Linked DNA regions of Homo sapiens: region 1 is linked to region 2. The links are contacts of gene promoters, found by promoter capture Hi-C in blood cells and fetal thymus (Javierre and others, 2016). All regions are on one chromosome and are shown on one strand. Each heading gives the region's core, a stretch centred on a gene start or on the middle of the fragment in contact. The rest is flanking DNA. Distances are from core to core; before and after follow the strand shown.

Region 1 (3,633 bases), core at 1,079-3,578, 680 kb before region 2:
AGTACTGCTTTCAAGGACACAGAATAGTGTCTTAAGCATTTGGGACAGTAGCTCCCCCACCTCCTGGGTAAGGGAAGTCCCAAAGAAAAGCACTATGCAAAAAGCCCTTTCTTACCACGCTCAACATCCATACAGAACTAATGTCCTTAGAAATGAGGGGACAGATTCCTTGAGTCAGAGGCAACAATTGAAAAAATAAATAATTCCTAGCATTGAATTTCTGAGATAGTTCCAGGTTTTGTTTCTTAGAACTGTGCACCATTACTTCACTCAGTCATTTTCCAAAACTGTTCTGATTCCCAGAAATGTTGGTTTTATTTCCAGACAGGGTGAAACTTTGTAGCTGTTTCTACTGCCTGACCTATTGGATTCAAATGCGTTCTGTTAGAGAGAAACCATTTGTGGTTAGAGATAAGAAAGTAGCCAGGGGGCCTTTGTTCCTACTTGGAGTTGGTTGGTATCATCTTGAGAAAAGGCTTCGTGCAGAAGAAACACAGTGTCTTGTTAACAAGACTTTTTGTCCCTTTGAAATAGCCTAACTCCTCTGTTTCATGTTTCTTTTTTTATTTGAGATGGAGTCTCACTCTGTAGCCAGGCTGGAGTGCAGTGGCACGATCTGGGCTCACTGCAACCTCCACCTCCTAGGTTCAAGCGATTCTTCTGCTTCCTGAGTAGCTGGGACTACAGGTGCGCACCACGATGCCTGGCTAATTTTTGTATTTTTTGTAGAGACAGGGTTTCACCATATTGGCCAGACTGGTCTTGAACTCCTGACCTCGTGATCCGCCCGCCTTTGCCTACCAAAGTGCTGGGATTACAGGCGTAAGCCACTGCACCTGGCCCTCTCTTCCATATTTCTTTGGACAAGAAAGCCTAATCCTAATCCTGGCTTTCTGTATAACTCAGTCATTCTGCACCTCAACTAGAATCGAGCTGGGGGAAGCAGGTCGAGGTTGAGTCTGACTCTGGCACAGCGTGCTTCATTTTATTGTGCTTCTTGTTACTGTACCTTGCAGATTTTTGCAAATGGAAGGTTGCTGTTCAGCAACCTTCCATTTGCAAAAATGTGCACTTTTTTTTTTTTTTTTGCTGCACCTGCGGTTTCTGCAAATTGAAGGTGTGTGGCAACCTTGTGTTGAACAAGTCTATCGGTGCCGTTTTCCAACACTATGTGCTCACTTTGTGTCTCTGTGTCAGATTTTTTAGCAATAAAGTAGTTTTAATTAAGGCATGCATATTTTTTAGATGTAGTACTGTCTCACCCTTAAGAAACTACAGTATAGTATAAACATATCTTGTATATGCCCTGGGAAACCAAAACATTTGTGTGACTCACTTTATTGAGATATTCGCTTCATTGTGATGGTCTGGACCTGAACTCACAATGGCTCCCAGGTGTGCCTGGACTTATCAGAGCGGGGATACTGAATAGGTCCTTGAGCTCTCTGAGCCTTAGCTACCTCCTTGGGAAAACAGAGCTAGGATCTCAGAGGAGGAATATGCGAATCTAAACTTGAGTTTGAAAAGCAAGGAGAGGTTCACCTGCAGAGGAGTCACATTCGCTGGGAGGCACCAGCACCAGGGGGGTAACATGTAGGTTTTCAGGAATCATGGAATCCTTTGAGTCAGGGCTCTGTCTTTTCTAGGTGGGTAACTCTGAACAAGCTGGTTAACCTCCTAAAGCCTCTGATTCCTTTCTAAGAAAAGGGGACTAGTTATAGCTGCCTCAAAGGGTTGTTATGAATATTAAATCAATGATTGTATGTAAAATCTTAGCGGGTTCAATACACAGCTAGGGTTTATTGAGGACGGACCTATTATGTGTCAGGCAGAGTCCTGGTTGATTTCATATATGGTGTCTCTTAGGCAAAGGCAAGATACCTGCAAAAATATAATGTGTCCCCCCACCCCCCAGCCAAATTGTGAAGAAGCTCTGTGACTGGAGCACATGGTGCTTGTTAGGCAACCATAGTGTCATACGTGCGAGACAATGAGAAGAACTACAGATGTTATTGCACAGTCCCCAGGAAGCCTTCAGATACTTTTAGACCCGCGCTTTCAAACAGTGCTTCTCACATTGAACTGCACAGATCGCTTCGCCTTGTGTTCTACAGACGCAGACTCTGATTCAGATGGTATGGAGCAGGGTAGGGAAGGGAGCCGAGACTGTATGGATGCAGCTGGGCTAGACGTCACTTGGAGGTGCAAGGGTTTTAGAAGTCCGTTCCTGTAGGCAGCGGTGCAGACTACGGATTAGAGGGACTGAGACCAGAAGGGAACAAGCTGGGAAGCTGATATGGTGTGATCAGTGCCTCTACTAGGCACTGCTGGGAGAATGAAGAGGAGGAGACAGATTGGGTAACTTTCAGCCTTAGAATCAACAGACAACTGGTGACTTAATCAATAGAAAGAGTGATGGAGAGACTGATTCCCCCACCCTTGTGAATGACTTCCATGGCCCTGGTTCCTCGGGTCCAGAGAGCTGGCCCTTCTGGGTGTGTAGACATCTTCCTTAGGCCTCTGGAAGGAGTGCACTACTACAGCTTCCCGGAGTGTCTCCCAGGTCTGGGAACAGCTTATGTGTGCATCAGCGTGAATGGACAGGTGCAGGTGTTCCCAGATCTCAGCGTCACCTGCTGCCTTGGTCTGTTCACCGTTGTGATGTCAGTCCCTTGTCCCCTCTGGGCCTGACCTGAACTTCTCTCCCTTCCTGGTACAGACCTCCGTGTTTACTCCAGCCTATGGATCCGTGACCAATGTGAGGGTCAACAGCACCATGACAACCCTGCAGGTGCTCACCCTGCTGCTGAACAAATTTAGGGTAAGCCTGGTCAGGAGCAGCCTTGCCCCAGGATGCCAGTGGTCTGCTATTCTGTTGGGGGTGGGGTTCTGGGGAAAGCTGCCCGTGGCAGAAGCTGCCTGGGCAGAAGGTCTAGCAAGGGTCCCTCTGCTGAGCTTTGGTTTCTCGGATTTCAAGCAAGAGGAGGTTGGGAGAGGACAGGTTCCTTGCAACTTGCGTGTGTGTTACTGGGGGTGTAGTTACTGTCAGGGGACCCTCTCAGTTCTCTCCCATCTCCAAGCACCGTGATCTGACTTCCTGTGACTGCCTGTGCAGGTGGAAGATGGCCCCAGTGAGTTCGCACTCTACATCGTTCACGAGTCTGGGGGTAAGTACCTGCCCCACTTCTGGATCGTAAAAGCAAAAGGTCTCTACCTGTTCAGCAAGCCCCCTCCCCACCAACCACTGACTGTACTCCCTTCCAGATGGGCTCCGTGCTGGCTTGCCTAGTGGGCTAGGGCACACTGTGCCTCCCAGCATGAACATTTCTCCCCCACCCAAACCCAGGCACACTATGGAAGCCTTGAGGAAAAGAAAACATACTTTTGGCTTCGAATTTAAAGCACATTAAAATGTCCTTGGATTTTCTAGGTCGCTCAGTACATTAAGTTTAATTCTTTCAGGATTCTGAAGGAGAATCCCACCAAGCTATAGGAAGCCTCCCTCTCCGCCTCTTCCAGAGAAATGGATGGGTGGGTACCTAGCTCCTTGGCGCCGAGTCAGGAAGGGTGGGGTGCGTGTCGCAGTGCATCAGGCCCTGGCCCTCCCGTCTCAGCTTTCCTTTCTCCCACCCC
Region 2 (3,993 bases), core at 1,146-3,645:
CCACCACGCCCGGCTAATTTTTTTGCATTTTTAGTAGAGATTTCTCCCAACAGGGGTTTCTCCATGTTCGTCAGGCTGGTCTCAAACTCTCAACCTCAGGTGATCCGCCTGCCTCGGCCTCCCAAAGTGCTGGGATTACAGGCGTAAGCCACTGTGCCCAGCCTACAACCATCTTTGACAAACCTGACAAAAACAAGACGTAGGGAAATGATTCCCTATTTAATAAATGGTGCTGGGAAAACTGGCTAGCCATATGTAGAAAGCTGAAACTGGATCCCTTCCTTACACCTTATACAAAAATTAATTCAAGATGGATTAAAGACTTAAATGTTAGACCTGAAACCATAAAAACCCTAGAAGAAAACCTAGGCAATACCATTCAGGACATAGGCATGAGCACGGACTTCATGACTAAAACACCAAAAGCAATGGCAACAAAAGCCAAAATAGACAAATGGGATCTAATTAAACTAAAGAGCTTCTGCACAGCAAAAGAAACTACCATCAGAGTGAACAGGCAACCTACAGAATGGGAAAAAAATTTTGCAATCTACCCATCTGACAGAGGGCTAATATCCAGAATCTACAAAGAACTTAGACAAATTTTCAAGAAAAAAACAACCGCATCAAAAAGTGGGCAAAGGATATGAACAGACAGTTCTCAAAAGAAGATATTTATGCAGCCAACAGACACATGAAAAAACACTCATCATCACTGGTCATCAGAAAAATGCAAATCAAAACCACAGTGAGATACCATCTCACACCAGTTAGAATGGCGATCATTAGAAAGTTAGGAAACAACAGATGCTGGAGAGGATGTGTAGAAATAGGAACACTTTTACACTGTTGGTGGGACTGTAAATTAGTTCAACCGTTGTGGAAAACAGTGTGGCAATTCCTCAAGGATCTAGAACTAGAAATACCATTTGACCCAGCGATCCCATTACTGGGTATATACCCAAAGGATTATAAATCATGCCACTATAAAGACACATGCACACGTATGTTTACTGTGGCACAATTCACAACAGCAAAGACTTGGAACCAACCCAAATGTCCATCAGTGATAGAGTGGATTAAGAATATGTGGCACATATACACCATGGAATACTATGCAGCCATAAAAAAAGGATGAGTTCATGTCCTTTGCATGGACATGGATGAAGCTGGAAACCATCATTCTCAGCAAACTGTCACAAGGACAGAAAACCAAACACCGCCATGTTCTCACTCATAGATGGGAACTCAACAATGAGAACACTTGGACACAGGGAGGGGAACATCACACACTGGGGCCTGTCGTGGGGAGTGAGATGGGGGGAGGGATAGCATTAAGAGAAATACGCAATATAAATGACGAGTTAGTCGGTGCAGAAAACCAACATGGCACATGTATAGCTATGTACCAAACCTGCACGTTGTGCACATGTACCCTAGAACTTAAAAAAAAAAAAAAAATCAATTCCCAAAGCATTTCTCTCATTTCTTCTGAAAAGTTTCTAAAAACACAACTCCAAGGATGAAATGGAAGTTAAAGGTAAACAGGCAATAGCGCTGAATACGTAATTTCAGTAACTCAGAATTTTCTCCAACCTCTGCTCTAAAGAAGCTTAGCTACAGAAGAGCAGTTACCTTTGAAACATTTTCCCCAACATAAAGATATCCGGAATGTGAAGCTGCCATTAAAACTGTGACACAGATCTACATTTACTGATACATCAAAACATCCCTAAAGTTCGAAATACGAGCTACAGAATCACATCAACCGCCTAACTTGTCTGTAGCCTAAACTCTAGTCCGGAGTTCATCTGCAAGCGGAATTGGGAAGTATTTCAGAGCCAGCATCTCCTCGCGCCATCCAGGTACCTACACACTTGAGGCCACCGAGTCACCTGCGCAGCCGTTGCTCCTCCAAGACCAATCCGGGCTCCCCAGACCCACCGGCCTGAATCTGGAGGACAGCAGTCCGCGTGACAACAGCGACTCGGAGATCAGCACCCGTCGGGAAAGCCGCGTACCCGTTGAAGCTGGCGTCACGCCCAAAGGAACAAACGCCAGAGCGTGTGTCCTGGGCAAAGGCGGCCCGCCGCTCCGGTCCCCGGGCAGCAGCGGCCGGCGTCAGGCCGCAAGGCGAGGGGCGGGGACAGGACTCTACCCGGCAGCCCAGCGCCGAGCGCCCGCGCCACTCCGGCCTTGCGCCATTCCGGCCCCACGACGGCCGGCGGCGGCAGCGCGGCTGGGCTCAGCGGCTCGCAGCCCGGGCGCCCCCCCTGCCGGCCGCTCGCTAGCTCAGCCTCACCCGCAGTCTTGTCCGCTGGCTCGCTCGCCCGCCTACAGGTCGACAGGGCCCAACGACCCGGCGAGCAACTTCACGGAAGGCACTGGCCGACAACGCTCCGCTGCCGCCGCGCCCCGCCCCTTTGTGACACCACCTACCAATCGCTGGACGGCGCTTTCGCTGCCCTCCAATCAGCGCGGGCGGGGGCAGGCCTGGCCCCCGGACGTGGGCGGTTGCCGGGGCGCCAGGGCCCTGGGGCCTTCTTGGCATTCGCTGGAGGTTGTGAGTTACGAGGCCCGGATGTTGATCTTTTATTACTAGCAACACTGGACCCCTGACTCGTGCCCACGCGGGCGTCTGGAGGGCAGCCGCATGGCCTGCTGGGAACGGCGGGGTTGAAGCCGGAGCCGCCCTCCGTGAGACCCACCGGGGATCCTCTTCCAGGCGCCTGATTTGCTGGAGATAGGCGATACAGGCAGACGCTGTCCAGTCGGTGGCCTCTCCAGAGTGAGGGGCGCTCCTGGTGCGTTTGGGCCGGCCTGTCCTAACAAATCTGCTTTAGGCTTCACCGTCCCCTAATGTTTCTGGCCTCAATTGCCTCATCTGGAAAATGGGGGCATTACCGTGCCTGCTTGAAGACAAAGGCGAAAACAGATAACTTTCTGTAGTCCTCATACAATTTACTGAGAACTGTAGGCCAGGCAATGGAGTAGGCACCCTGGGCTCAAATCCCAGCGTTGGGTAAGCCCAGCCACACCTCCTGCTCCAGTTTCCAAGCTGCTGAGCTGCGGTGTAAACAGTAACTGGCTTCAAGCCAACACCTGCCTTTCAACCTAACATGGGAGCCCACTGCCTCGTTCCGTTCCCCCTACCGATTTTCCAACTCCGTGAACCTCCTTCACTAAGTGGGTTACTCAGCTGACAAAGAATGTCATCTCACTCCCACTGCGGGTTCACTCATCCTCGACTTCTGGCTCAGAGGAGCCAGTCTAATATGAAACTAAACATCTAATCTGTGTCTCCTGTCCTCTCTCATTCTTCTGAGACCCTACCCACCAACTTATCTCCACAGTTCAACGAACTATTGAGCATACACTGGGGGAGTATGGTGAGGCACTGGGCATTGATTCACCAGTCTCGCCGTTGGTTCCTTCTGAAACTCCACATATGCTTAATGCTAAATAGATTGGAGACCTTTGAGGACAGAGCTATGATGGTAATCATCTTTGCATTCCTGAGCCTAGAATAGGGCCTGTGATGGAGACTTACTGAGTAAAAACCTTAGCGTTTCTCACCCTTGCCTGCCCACTTCATTCACACTGGAGAATTGACAGCATGGACCGTGGAGTCAGGCAGGTGTGTTTAAAGCCTTGCCTCCCAATACCAGAAGCTCCATTACCTGGCCAAGTCATTCATTCTTTACAACATCATCATCATTATCATCTGCCATTCTTCAAGTGCCAGATAGTTGATAAGGGTCTTTACGTATTCTCTCCCCATCACAATCCTGCAAAGTTGGTAGTGAAATCCCTCGTCTACAAAGGAGTAAACAAAAGCCAATTAAAGTAGAACAATTTACCTATAATCAAACAGCTCTATGTCGGAAAGCCATATTTAAACTAGGACACAATACAAAAATCCAACCTTGTTCCATTATTCCACATTGCTTCCAGATTTTAGCTTTATCTGTAAAATTAGTGTTACTACATTAC

The links. Contacts are between HindIII fragments. The CHiCAGO score rates a contact against its expected background, and 5 or more counts as called.
Region 1: a fragment that was not itself captured here is called in contact with the fragment with the promoter of ZFAND4 in region 2 in 1 of 17 cell types (fetal thymus); the score reaches 5.7 in fetal thymus.

What each region holds. Positions count from the first base shown.
Region 1 is chr10:44,986,555-44,990,187 of GRCh38, forward strand. It overlaps RASSF4 (Ras association domain family member 4), which reads left to right. Exons shown (of 11, transcript NM_032023.4): 7 at 2,720-2,821; 8 at 3,116-3,167. Among named protein-coding and RNA genes, the nearest start is that of DEPP1, 9.6 kb to the left of the region's middle. The HindIII fragment of the contact is 6,881 bases long and covers 1-3,633 here.
Region 2 is chr10:45,670,377-45,674,369 of GRCh38, forward strand. It overlaps ZFAND4 (zinc finger AN1-type containing 4), which reads right to left and starts at 2,396. Exons shown (of 10, transcript NM_174890.4): 1 at 1,874-2,396. RefSeq lists a silencer at 1,979-2,698. The HindIII fragment of the contact is 4,202 bases long and covers 1,611-3,993 here.